Linked DNA regions of Homo sapiens: region 1 is linked to region 2. The links are contacts of gene promoters, found by promoter capture Hi-C in human tissues and cell types (Jung and others, 2019). All regions are on one chromosome and are shown on one strand. The core of a region is centred on a gene start or on the middle of the fragment in contact, and the rest is flanking DNA. Distances in the headings are between cores, read along the strand shown.

Region 1 (5,753 bases), core at 2,192-4,691, 260 kb after region 2:
TGCACACATAAATTCATGTATCAACATGAACATGCTGAAACATACATACACGTAGACACTAAAAGCATGCACCCAGAATGACACACACACAGTTGTATAAATGAGGATAAACATGGCAGAGGCATCCAGGAGAACCCACTGGACAAAATGGCACAAAACACAAAGATGCATGAGCACACAGGGTGATTGAGGGGAACACTGACTTGCAGGGAAGGAGAAAGAGAAAGATAGAAAGATGGGATCCAAGACAAGCATAGACAGACAGGTGGGCAAAGTCCTGTGCAGGGCTCCAGGGCCAACCAGAATAACCTGAGAGTCTAATGCTGGCCTGTCCTTCCGCAGATACTGCCTAACTCAGCACCACACTCCAGGAGGCCATGAAGGATTAATTTCCTATTCACAGCTCCATGGGGTAAAGCTTGGCTGTGCTGAGGAAGGGATGGCGAAGGAGGTTCCCAAAGACTCTGTCCCTTTCCTCCTTCCCAAAGGAAAAGATTTGTGAGCTTTAGACTAGAGAATGTAAAAGCAAGGAATGTGCTTAGGGAACATCTCATCCATCCGCTTCATCCTACAGATTAAAGAGAACAACTACCATTCATTGAGCACTTACTGCCATGTACCTCATCTGCATTAACACTTATACTTCTCCCCTAAATAGCCAAAGAGGTAGGAGCTGTTCTTGGCTCCATAAGACTCAGAGAGATGAAGTCAGCTGTTCAAAGCCACACAACAAAGAAAGGATAAGGTTAGGATTCCAATCCAGGCCTTAATCATTGCACCATCCATTCAGAAAGGGAAACTGAGGCCCAGCAAAGGAAAGGGATCTTCCTGGGCTCGCCACTAACTCACTCTGAAAGCCTGTTCCCAAGACACTGCCCACTGGGACAAGTCCCTCCCACATGATTTCAGACACCATTCTCTCACTCCATGCTCTAGGGTAATCAACAAGTCCAAAATTCATTGACCTCTATGTCCACAAATACTAGAGTTCTCCCAACCTGTCTCTCCCCATCCCCTCCCTGGCCAGGTCATGGCAACCTGCTGATCACTCAGTGCACTTCCTAGTGCCAACCCCAGTGAGAAACAAACTCCCCAGATTTCTGTCTCCCACCTTTTTAAGAAACACGAAGGAAAAGGAGGAGCCAGGCCCAGGTGCAGACTGGTGAACAGGATTAGAGCGATTGATATCTGCCAAGCTGGTGCTAATCTTCCTTCCCACCTCTTCCCCTCCAAAATCAACAAACAACTTTCCTCTCTCTGCCTTGTTCTCTGACCTTTGTTCCCTCCACACAGGTCTCAGAGCTCAGCATCCTAGAACAGTTTGAGCAAGATGTCAGTCCTGGGGGTGCCAACCTCACCCACCTCCACTTGTCCAAAGTTGGTGACCCAGAGGACAGGTGCAACCCTAAATGGTCCAACCACCACAGCCTGTCCTGTGGCCATCTGGGGCCCCTCTCAGGGTCTGGCTGAGGCTCATCTCAGACCCACATAGGACCAATATCAGCACCTGCCTCATGCTCATGTCACAGCCCACTGGGACCAACCTCAGACCCTATATGGTGCCACCCTTACGCCCTCCTGAAGCAGGACACTCTTATGCCCTCAATGACACCTGAGACAACACACAGAGCCCTCTTGGCACCAAACATGACTTCAATATTCTCCTGGTGTCAAGTTCAGTGCCAACTTGTTTCCCATCCTCGCATACACCTGGGGGCAGTCCCAAAGCCAACACGATGCCTTTCCCTCCCTGGCCATACCTGATGCTGATATCAGAACCCACCAATGTCATCAGTGTGTCCACTGCTGATGCCAGTCCCAGCACTCACCTCCTGCTAAGGCTGGCCTGCACTTGACTCCCAGGGTGATCTAGGCCAGTCAATGAAGGGGGGTGAGGAGAAAGTTCACATCCCAGCTCCCTCACTTACTCCCTGTGTGACCTCACTCAAGAGGATTTATGGAGTCTAGATCTGCTCATCTTCAAAATGAGGATGATCATGATGAACCAACCTCATTGTTACAAAGATTCAACCAGATCATACACACCTAGACTTAATCTTCCCGTATACGACCATGCTCACCAAAGGGTAACTGTCCTGTTTACTAAGGAAGAATTTCCCTGAGGGAAGGACAGGAGGGCTACTCATCCCTTCTCCACTCACACCCACCCCAGGATCTGCCTCTGTGCCTAATACTGGAGTTTACCCCAATCTCTTCTGCCACTGTTCCCTCTGCCTGCTAATAGTAGTAGCCCCTGACAAAGCAGGAATCATTCTTAAAGGAGACTTAACTCACCCTCGAATGTGATCTTCTCTTCCCAAACACTCCCTTTCCACTGGCAGGAAAACCAAATCCAGAAAGGGGAACTAAGTACACAGAGCAGGAGAGATGGGAGTTCAGGGCCACTCACACATGTCCCCTGCCCACTGTCTGTTTTCTGTCCTCTGTAGATCTTTATATAAAATGAGAAACATAAACAACAATCATAATATTAATAGGGATGATACAATCAATCTAGTGGGTTTCCCTGAGGATCTGGGTTGGAAACCAGCGGACAACCCTTGGGACACTTGAGATTTTTCCACCATTTGGGGGTTGTTATTACTATTTCTCCAGACCTAGCCAATCCCTCTGCCAACCGCTAACTCCAGGTACTCTTCTCCAGGTGTGGGGAAAGTTCCCCTGAAATATGGCTCTGGTCTTCCTCCCCTTCCCAATCAGAGATGGGCAGTGGAGGTTCTATGGCACCCATCCTGGCCTCACTCTGAGGTTCCAATGAGGATTCTGGGCATCAAGAGACAGCTCTGGGCAAAAGCAAAATCAAGTCAGCCCCTGGACCCAGTGCTGGGCTGCTGGGCTTTCTGGGAGAACCCGCTGGGCTTGCTACACACTCCTCCTCCCAGAAACTCCACACCCACAGCCCTGGGTCTTCCTAGCCCCGAGACTTTCAAGTCCATATGCCTGGAATCCCCCTTCCTGAGACCCTTAACCCTGCATCCTCCACAACAGAAGACCCCTAAATGCACAGCCACACTTTGTCTTACCCTAATAAAACCCAGACCTTTGGATTCCTCTCCCCTGGAACCCCCAGATCCACAACTTTGGGGTGCATTCTCACTCTCAGACCCCAAATCCAAAGCCCAAGTGCTCCCCTATGCAAATATTCCAAACTCCTCAGTTCTACAGCTTATCTGTTGCCCCCTCCTAAATCCACAGCCCTGCGGCACCCCTCCTGAAGTACCACAGATTTAGTCTGGAGGCCCCCTCTCTGTTCAGCTGCCCTGGGGTCCCCTTATCCTCCCTTGCTGGCTGTGTCCCAAGCTAGGCAGGATTCATGGTGGGGCATGTAGTTGGGAGGTGAAATGAGGTAATTATGTAATCAGCCAAAGTCCATCCCTCTTTTTCAGGCAGTATAAAGGCAAACCACCCCAGCCGTCACCATCTATCATCCCACTACCACCATGCTGGCCTCAGGGATGCTTCTGGTGGCCTTGCTGGTCTGCCTGACTGTAATGGTCTTGATGTCTGTTTGGCAGCAGAGGAAGAGCAAGGGGAAGCTGCCTCCGGGACCCACCCCATTGCCCTTCATTGGAAACTACCTGCAGCTGAACACAGAGCAGATGTACAACTCCCTCATGAAGGTGTCCCAAGGCAGGGAGATGGGTGGCACGGGGTGGGGGCTGCCTAGTTGGCTGGGGCTTTGTGGCAGGGGGTTGACCAGTGTGGACCAGAGTCTTAGGAAATGGAGTTTTGGAGTTTCAGCATCAGAAAGACAGGATCTTGGGATGTCCAGCTCCCTGACTGTGAGAACCTGGGTGCGAAGCATCCCAGCACATGACATCTCGGTGCTGGGCCCCATTCAGAGTGGAGGCTTCTCCCTCTAACCACTCCCACCCACCTCCATCAGATCAGTGAGCGCTATGGCCCCGTGTTCACCATTCACTTGGGGCCCCGGCGGGTCGTGGTGCTGTGTGGACATGATGCCGTCAGGGAGGCTCTGGTGGACCAGGCTGAGGAGTTCAGCGGGCGAGGCGAGCAAGCCACCTTCGACTGGGTCTTCAAAGGCTATGGTGAGGGGGTGCCCAAGAGGGGGAAGGTGGCCAGGTGGACACGAAGGTCTCAGTGTTCCCAGCCTTCTCCCTGACTCTCCTGCCAACTGGAGGCTAAGGCAGAGTCCCCAGTCTGGTCTTCCCTCCCCATCTCCCTTCATTGTGGCCTCTCCATGTGTATCCCTCACCTGTCTCCAGCGTCCCTGTCCTGATTCCTCCCTGCCTCTCTCTGCCCCACCTCCTTATTCTCTCTCACTGGAGTCTCCTCTTTCCCCTCTCTCTCCATCTCTAAGGACATCCTGGGTTTCTGTTTTCCAGCCCTGGTTCTCTGTCTTCATTTGTCTTTTTGTCCCTCTTAGCTTCTGGGCTTCTCTGTGTTTCTCATCTCTCCGCATCCCTTTCTCACTTCTTCCTCTGTCTTAGGATTTCAGGGTATTCCTACTTCCACATCTTCAGCCTCCATCTCCTGGTAACAGTCTCTCTTCCTTCCAGACCCTCTCTGTTTCTATCTCAATATTTTTCTCTCTTCTCCAGCTCAGCTTAAGAATCTTTCACCATTTTTATTTCCTCCTCCCAGATCTCCCCATATCTCACTTCCCCTCCCTCCATCCTCTTCCTCCATCACTCTCTTTCTCTCCCCACTTCCTTCCCTTCCTCCATGGAGTGTCCCCTTATCCCTCTGTTTCTATGTGCATCTCTCTGTCTGGCCTTTCTGTTTCTTTTCTGATTGTCTTATTCTTTAAACCTGGTCTCTCTCTCTCTCTCTCTCTCTCTCTCTCTCTCTCTCTCTCTCCTCTCTCTCTTCTCTCTCTCTCTCCTCTCTCTCTTCTCTCTCTCTCTCTCTCTCTCTCCTCTCTCTCTTCTCTCTCTCTCTCTCTCTCTCTCTCTCTCTCTCTCTACCTCGACATCGTGTTTCTCTGACTGAGTTTGCAGCTCTGCTGGGCAATGGCGCTGAATCCATCTCTCTCCCACCCTACTCCCTCTCTCCTCCACCCTTGGGGAGCCCCTTGGAGCTGCTCCGCTCCTGCCCCTGCCGCCCCCTGGCCTGTCTCCATTCCCGCGTTCACCTCCCCAGGCGTGGTATTCAGCAACGGGGAGCGCGCCAAGCAGCTCCGGCGCTTCTCCATCGCCACCCTGCGGGACTTCGGGGTGGGCAAGCGAGGCATCGAGGAGCGCATCCAGGAGGAGGCGGGCTTCCTCATCGACGCCCTCCGGGGCACTGGCGGTGAGCAGGGGACCCCGAGTGCGGGGGCAGGAGAAGGAAAACACCCAGGACGAGGAACCCGCGCGCGTTCTGCCTGGGGATGGGGACTAGGTGGGGAAAGGCGCCCGCACTTCCAGCCCTGGAGTCTGGCGCTGGGAATTTGGCTCAACAAGGCCCTGCCTCCTGGAATTCTGACTCTCCTCAGACCTCTGAGTTGACTCTCTCCCCAACCCCCTTCTCCCGCCATACCCGCAGGCGCCAATATCGATCCCACCTTCTTCCTGAGCCGCACAGTCTCCAATGTCATCAGCTCCATTGTCTTTGGGGACCGCTTTGACTATAAGGACAAAGAGTTCCTGTCACTGTTGCGCATGATGCTAGGAATCTTCCAGTTCACGTCAACCTCCACGGGGCAGGTAACTGGCTGCAGCCCGGCCCGTGACGCCCCTACCACAACCTGCCAACTGCTCCCCTACCTGGAGACAGGTGCCCCAAACTCC
Region 2 (6,207 bases), core at 222-2,721:
AGATAATGAGAGAGACAGAAAAACAGTGAGCGATCTACATATCTACAGATGTCTGTCTACCTATCAGCCATCTATCATCTATCACTCTTTCTTTCCTTCCTTCCTTCCTTTCTTTTTCTTTCTTTCTTTTTTCTTTTTCTTTCTTTCTTTGTTTCTCATCTATTATCTAACATCTATCAACATCTATCTATCATCTATCTATCTATCTATCATCTATCATCTGTCTATCCATCATCTATCTATTCTTCTATCATCTATCATTGATCTGTCTATTATCTATCATCTATTATCTATCTATATCTATCATCTATCTACTATCTTCATAATCTATCATCTGTGTATCATCTGTCTATTATCTATCTATCATCACCTGTCTGTCAAGAGACTGTCATACAGAGACAGTGATAAAGAGAGATCAAGACACACAGGGACAGAGACAGACAAACACAGAGATAGGGAGAGCCAGAGAGCACATCACAGAAAGAGAGAGGCTGACATAGACTAGAGAAAGAAAGAGACAGAACTAGACAGACACAGAGCTAGAGAAAGACAAGGGAGATTGAGTGGAGAGACAGTGAGATGGACACTGACTGAGAGACAGAGAGGGACATGGAAGGATGGAGAGAAAAAGGGTAAGAGGGACAGAGAGAGGGAGAGACAGAGCTAGACACAGAGACTGAGGGAGACGAGAATGACAGACAGAAACAGATACACAAAGACAGAGTCACATAGACAGAGATGGAGAGAGAGAGAGAGAGAATAAGAGAGGCAGGGAATATTAGAGCCACACAAAGAGACGGGTAGGCTGCAAAGGGCAGACCAAGAGAGACTGAGGCCGGGCACGGTGGCTCACGCCTGTAATCCCAGCACTCTGGGAGGCCGAGGCAGGCGGATCACTTGAGGTCAGGAGTTTGAGACCAGCCTGGCCAACATGGTGAAACCCTGTCTCTACTAAAAACACAAAAATTAGTCAGGCGTGGTGTTAGGCACCTGTAATCCCAGCTACTCAGGAGGCTGAGGCAGGAGAATCGCTTGAACCCAGGAGGTGGAGGTTGCAGTGAGCTGAGATTGAACCACTGCACTCCAGCCTCAAAAAAAAAAAAAAAAAAAAAAAGAGAGAGAGAGAGAGAGAAAGAGACGGAGACAGAGAGGAAGGGCACAGGCAGAAACAGTGACAGGAAAAAATCAAGTGTTGCCAACCATGGGGTTGCATTGCAGAGAGAGAAGCCACCTACTTGGTGAAGCACCAGTAAAGAAATCCCAGTGCTCAGAACAGGGACATGAGAGCTCTCAGAGGAAACAGCAAAAAAGATTCCTAGCCAGTCTCAGAGACAGAGATTGGAGCTGGCGACCCACCCTCTCTTGGGAGACACCCCCTCCTTCTCTGCCTCCCTCACCGGGGCCCTTTACCTGCTGAGCTGCAGGAGACACTGGCTGGGATGCGCTAGAGCCTGCAGCTCTGGGTGTGCTTGGGGGGTGGTGGGGCAGAGGTTGTTCTTAAGTTGTTTCTGCCCACACCCTCCTCCTTAACCCCACTTTTCTTGTTCTCGCTGTGAACTTTAAATCCCTCCCATCATCTTGCCATACCTTTCCTGCGGCCCTAGGGCTCACAGCCAGCTGGAAAGGTGCCGTGGGAGGGGGCTGCGCCTGGGGGCCCTCCTGGGATGGGGCAAAGCTTTCTTTCTTTCTTTGTTTTTTTTTTTTGCTTTGCCAGTTGGAGCCTGGGCCTGGTTTTGGGGTAGTCATGGGGCTGTCGCAAAATGATGGGCCAGGGATGGGGGCTGGGTTCCTTTGGTATTTGGGGCACTTGTTTCTTTTTCTCTGGGTTCAAGTCCATTTCTGCCACTGATGGGCCGAGTGGCCCTGGCTAAGTCCCTTTCCCTCCAGAGCTGGAGTTTTCTCTTTCTCTGGAAGCCTATTTTTTCATAGTTCTCCATGCTGTTCCCTGTCTCTTGCCGTGGGTCTCTGAAATGCTCTGTGTCTTGCTTTGCTTCTGCCTCTACAGTCTCTGCCTCTGAATCTTTTTGTCTCTCTGTGTCTCTGTCTCTCCCTCCTTTGGTGTCTCTGGGTCTTCATTTCTTATGCTCTCTGGGCTTTCTCCTTCTCTCTGCTTCTCTCCCTGATCTCCCTGTAAGTCCCTCTCAGTCACTGTCTCCTGATCTCTCTGGTCTCTCACTCTCTCTATCTCTCATGTCTCCACGAGTCAGACTGCACTTGGTGGGACTGAAGCCAAGCTGAGGCTGAAGGAGTGTTTAAGAAAAGGGCAGAGCTGGAAGCCACAGGGAAAAAGCCTCTCAGACTAGAATGACACTCTCTCCCACCACTGGCTCATAAACAGCCCTCCTCCTGCCCTCCTGAGCACCCTACTAGCCATGTCTACTCTCAGCTCCTGCCTTAGAAACTCACCCTAGTAGGCCAGGCGCAGTGGCTCACGCCTGTAATCCCAGCACTTTGGGAGGCCGAGGTGGGTGGATCACCTGAGGTCAGGAGTTCAAGACCAGCCTGGCCAACATGGTGAAACCCTGTCTCTACTAATAATACAAAAATTAGCCAGGCATGGTGGCTCACGCCTGTAGTCTGAGCTACTTGGGAGGCTGGGGCAGGAGAATCGCTTGAACCCGGGAGGTGGAGGTTGCAGTGAGCTAAGAACATGCCACTGCACTCCAGCCTGGGCAACAGGGTGAGACTCGGTCTCAAAAAAAAAAAAAAAAAAAAAAGAAGAAGAAACTGGCCCTAGTTACCCACCTCCTGGCCAGGTCACAAGGGCAGAATGCAAAACCTGGAGCTGGGCCAGGGCTCTGGTGCCAGGGGCTAGGCTGGGTGGAGAGCCCCTGCGGTCAAGGGTCTGGGAGGCCAGGTGGAGGTGTGGGTACCCCCACAGGTTCGTGGGTGTGCACCAGGATTGCTGTTCTCAGAGGGGCAGAGGAGGAAGTGTTTGGAGGTCCTGGGGAATTTGACACCCTAGGTCCCAGGCATATGGTGGGGTGGAGGTGGGGCCCATGCTGTTGTTTCAGTCCTGGATAGGCCGGTTGGGGCAGGTCCTGGAAGAGGGCTGAAGGCTTGATGATGGGATTATATAGCTCTAGTTTCCCTTGGCGTCTACTCCCTACTTTTAAGGGGAGGGTGTAGTGCTGTATCCACGCCAACCCTGTAAGCAACTTATCCCTCACCCTAGAACTTGGTTAAGAGGGGCCTAATGAGGCTGGGCGTGGTGGCTCATGCCTGTAATCCCAGCACTTTGGGAGGCCGAGGTGGGTGGATCACCTGAGGTCAGGAGTTTGAGACAGCCTGACCAACATGGCAAAACCCTGTCTCTACTAAAAATACAAAAAAAATTAGCCAGGCGTGGTGGTGCTTGCCTATAATCCCAGCTACTCAGGAGGCTGAGGCAGGAGAATCACTTGAACCCGGGAGGTGGAGGTTGCAGTGAGCTGAGATTGTACCATTGCACTCCAGCCTGGGCAACAAGAGTGAAACTTTGACTCAAAAAAAAGAAAAAAAAAGAAAAAAAAGATGGGCCTAATGGGACCACCTGATTGGGGAAACTGGGATTTATGGGAAGGGCAGTTAGTTAGTTTGTTTTGACACAGGGTCTCACTCTGTCACCCAGACTGGAGTTTAGTGGTGTGATCATAGCTCATTGCAGCCTCGATCTCCTGGGCTTAAGGGATTCTCCTGCCTCAGCTTCCCAAGTAGCTGGGACTACAAGCACGCATCACCACACCTGGCTAATTTTTAAAATTTTTAGTAGAGATGAGATCTAGCATGCTATGTCACCCAGTCTGGTCCCCAACTCCTGGGCTCAAGCGATCCTCCCACCTGGGCCTCTGGGGATTACAGGCGTGAGCCACCATGTGTGGCCGAGAAGGGGGGTTTTAAGAGGCTTTGAGTTCTGTTATTCTGACTTGCTCTCCTGCTACAGAGGGAACTTGGGGCAAGGAAGGGATGTATTGCAATTTCTCAACTCACTGCTGTTGATGTCTTGGGCCTTCATGGGTGGTGGGGGCTGCATCCTGTGTGTGGTAGGATGTTTAGCAGTGTCCTTGGTTTCTACTCAGTAGATGACAGAACCCACCCACTCATTCCCTACCAGTTGTTACAAACAAACATGACTCCAGATACTATTGAATGTCCCCTTGGGAGGAAAAAAATCAACCCAGTTGAGAACCGCTGGGGTATTGCAGAAAGCTGAAACACACTCCGTGGTGGAAAAATGCCTCGCCTCTCATTGTCCTCTCTTGGAACTCCCCCCGCCCTATTCCTATCCTTTTGTTCCTGCCTCCTCAAACTCCAAAACCCTCTTCAGTCACCTCACTCTTTGTTGATGAACCCGCTTCTTATCTCACGGAGAGAATGGCAGCAATGGGCAGTAAGCGGGCGCATCCTCCATCATCCTGTCCTCTTGCCCACTGGCATCTGGACGGCACATGCAGCCTTCCTTCCTGCTAGAACCACACAGTGTCCCATGTCAGGCTTAGGTGAGCCCCCTTCTGGTGTGCCAGATCCCATTCCATCGCCAACTGGAGGACTTGATTCTATTTACTGTGTCATAGTTCCTGTGAAGGTGTGTAGATGGAGTTTTCCCTTAACGATTTCTTTAGGTAAAATTTACCTGTGATGAAATACACACATGGTAAGTGAACATTTGCTGAATTTTGAAGGTATCGAAATCCCTGTGAAGATACAGAATATTTTCATCATCCAAGAAAGTTCTCTTGGAGCTGGGCGTGGTGGTTTGTGCCTATAATCCTAGCTATAGGAGGCTGAGGTGGAAGGATCACTAGAGGCCAGAAATTTGAGACCAGGCTGTGCAACATTGCGAGACCCCTGTCTCTACTAAAAAAAAGAAAAAAACAATAGCTAAGTGTGGTGGTGCACGCTTGTAATCCCAGCTACTCAAGGGGCTGAGGTGGAAGATCACTTGCACCCAGGAGTTCCAGGCTACAGTGAGCTATGAACACACCCCTGCACTCCAGCCTGGGTGACAAAGAGAGACTCCCTTCTCTAAAGTAATAATAATAATGAAAAGAGAACCCTCCTTCCTACTCCTTCCTAGTCAACCATGCTCCATCTCTTGTGGGCAACCATTGTTCTAGGTTTTTTTCTCTTCTTTTGAGACAGGGTCTTGCTCTGTCCCCCAGGCTGGAGTGCAGTGGTGTGATCATTGTTCACTGCAACCTTGACCTCCCTGGCTCAAATGATCCCCCGGCCTCAGCCTCCTGAGTAGCTGGAAGTAGAGGCCTGTGCCATCACAACTGGCTAATTTAAAAATTTTTTGTAGAGGCAGAGGTCTCCCTATGTTGCCCAGGCTGATCTCGAACTCCTGGGCTCAAGCAATCCTTCTGCCTCAGCCTCCCAGAGTGCTGGGATTACAGGCTTGAGCCACTGCATCCAGCCCTGTTCTAGTTTTTTCTTCCCACTATTGATCTACATTTCATATAAATGAAAATCTACGGCTGGGCATGGTGGCTCACGCCTGTAATCTTAGCTTTTTGGGAGGCTGAGGCGGGTGGATCACCTGAGGTCAGGAATTTGAGACCAGCCTGGCCAACGTGGTGAACCCCTCTCTCTATGAAAAATACAAAAATTAGCTGGACTTGATGGAGGGTGCCTGTAATCCCAGCTAGTCGGGAGCCTGAGGCAGGAGAATCACTTGAACCTGGGAGGCGGAGGTGGCAGTGAGCCAAGATCATGCCACTGTACTCCAGCCTGGGCGACAGAGCGAGACTCCGTCTCAAAAAAAAAAAAAAGAAAAGAAAATCTACAGCATTTCTTCCATATACCAAGCCTGCTTCTGGGAAGCATACGTAATGCTTTTGAGAGTTAACCATGTGTTACATACATCAGAAGCTCATTCCTTTTCATTGCAGAGTAGCATGTCACCGCATATAGATGTGCCACAATTTGCTTTTCACCAGTTGATGGAAATGTGGATTGTTCCCAAGGTCTGGCTATTTTGAATAATATGTATTATTCTTGGCATATATGCATATGTCTTTGTGGGGATCTATGTTTCGTGTATCTGGATATATCTGTGAGTGTGACTGCTGGGTTCTATGATGAGTGTATATTTATAAGAAACTTCCAAACTCTTTTCCAAAGTGGCTGTGTCATGTTTTCATTTCCTGTGTGATTTGTTTTCTTCTCTCTATTGAATATTTTTCATAAAGAGCCAATAAGCTGGCCGGGCATGGTGGCTCATGCCTG

The links. Contacts are between HindIII fragments. The study calls those that stand out against the background at their distance.
Region 1: the fragment with the promoter of CYP2A6 here is called in contact with the fragment with the promoter of CYP2F1 in region 2 in 5 of the 25 tissues and cell types used here (H1 embryonic stem cells, adrenal gland, heart left ventricle and 2 more).

The regions. Positions count from the first base shown.
Region 1 is chr19:40,848,135-40,853,887 of GRCh38, reverse strand. It overlaps CYP2A6 (cytochrome P450 family 2 subfamily A member 6), which reads left to right and starts at 3,441. Exons shown (of 9, transcript NM_000762.6): 1 at 3,441-3,641; 2 at 3,908-4,070; 3 at 5,125-5,274; 4 at 5,509-5,669. The coding sequence starts at 3,462. RefSeq lists enhancers at 1,015-1,049, 2,245-2,273, 5,083-5,582 and promoters at 3,326-3,462, 2,443-3,462. The HindIII fragment of the contact is 10,166 bases long and covers 1-5,753 here.
Region 2 is chr19:41,109,696-41,115,902 of GRCh38, reverse strand. CYP2F1 (cytochrome P450 family 2 subfamily F member 1) reads right to left here and starts at 1,471. Exons shown (of 10, transcript NM_000774.5): 1 at 1,411-1,471. The HindIII fragment of the contact is 13,902 bases long and covers 1-6,207 here.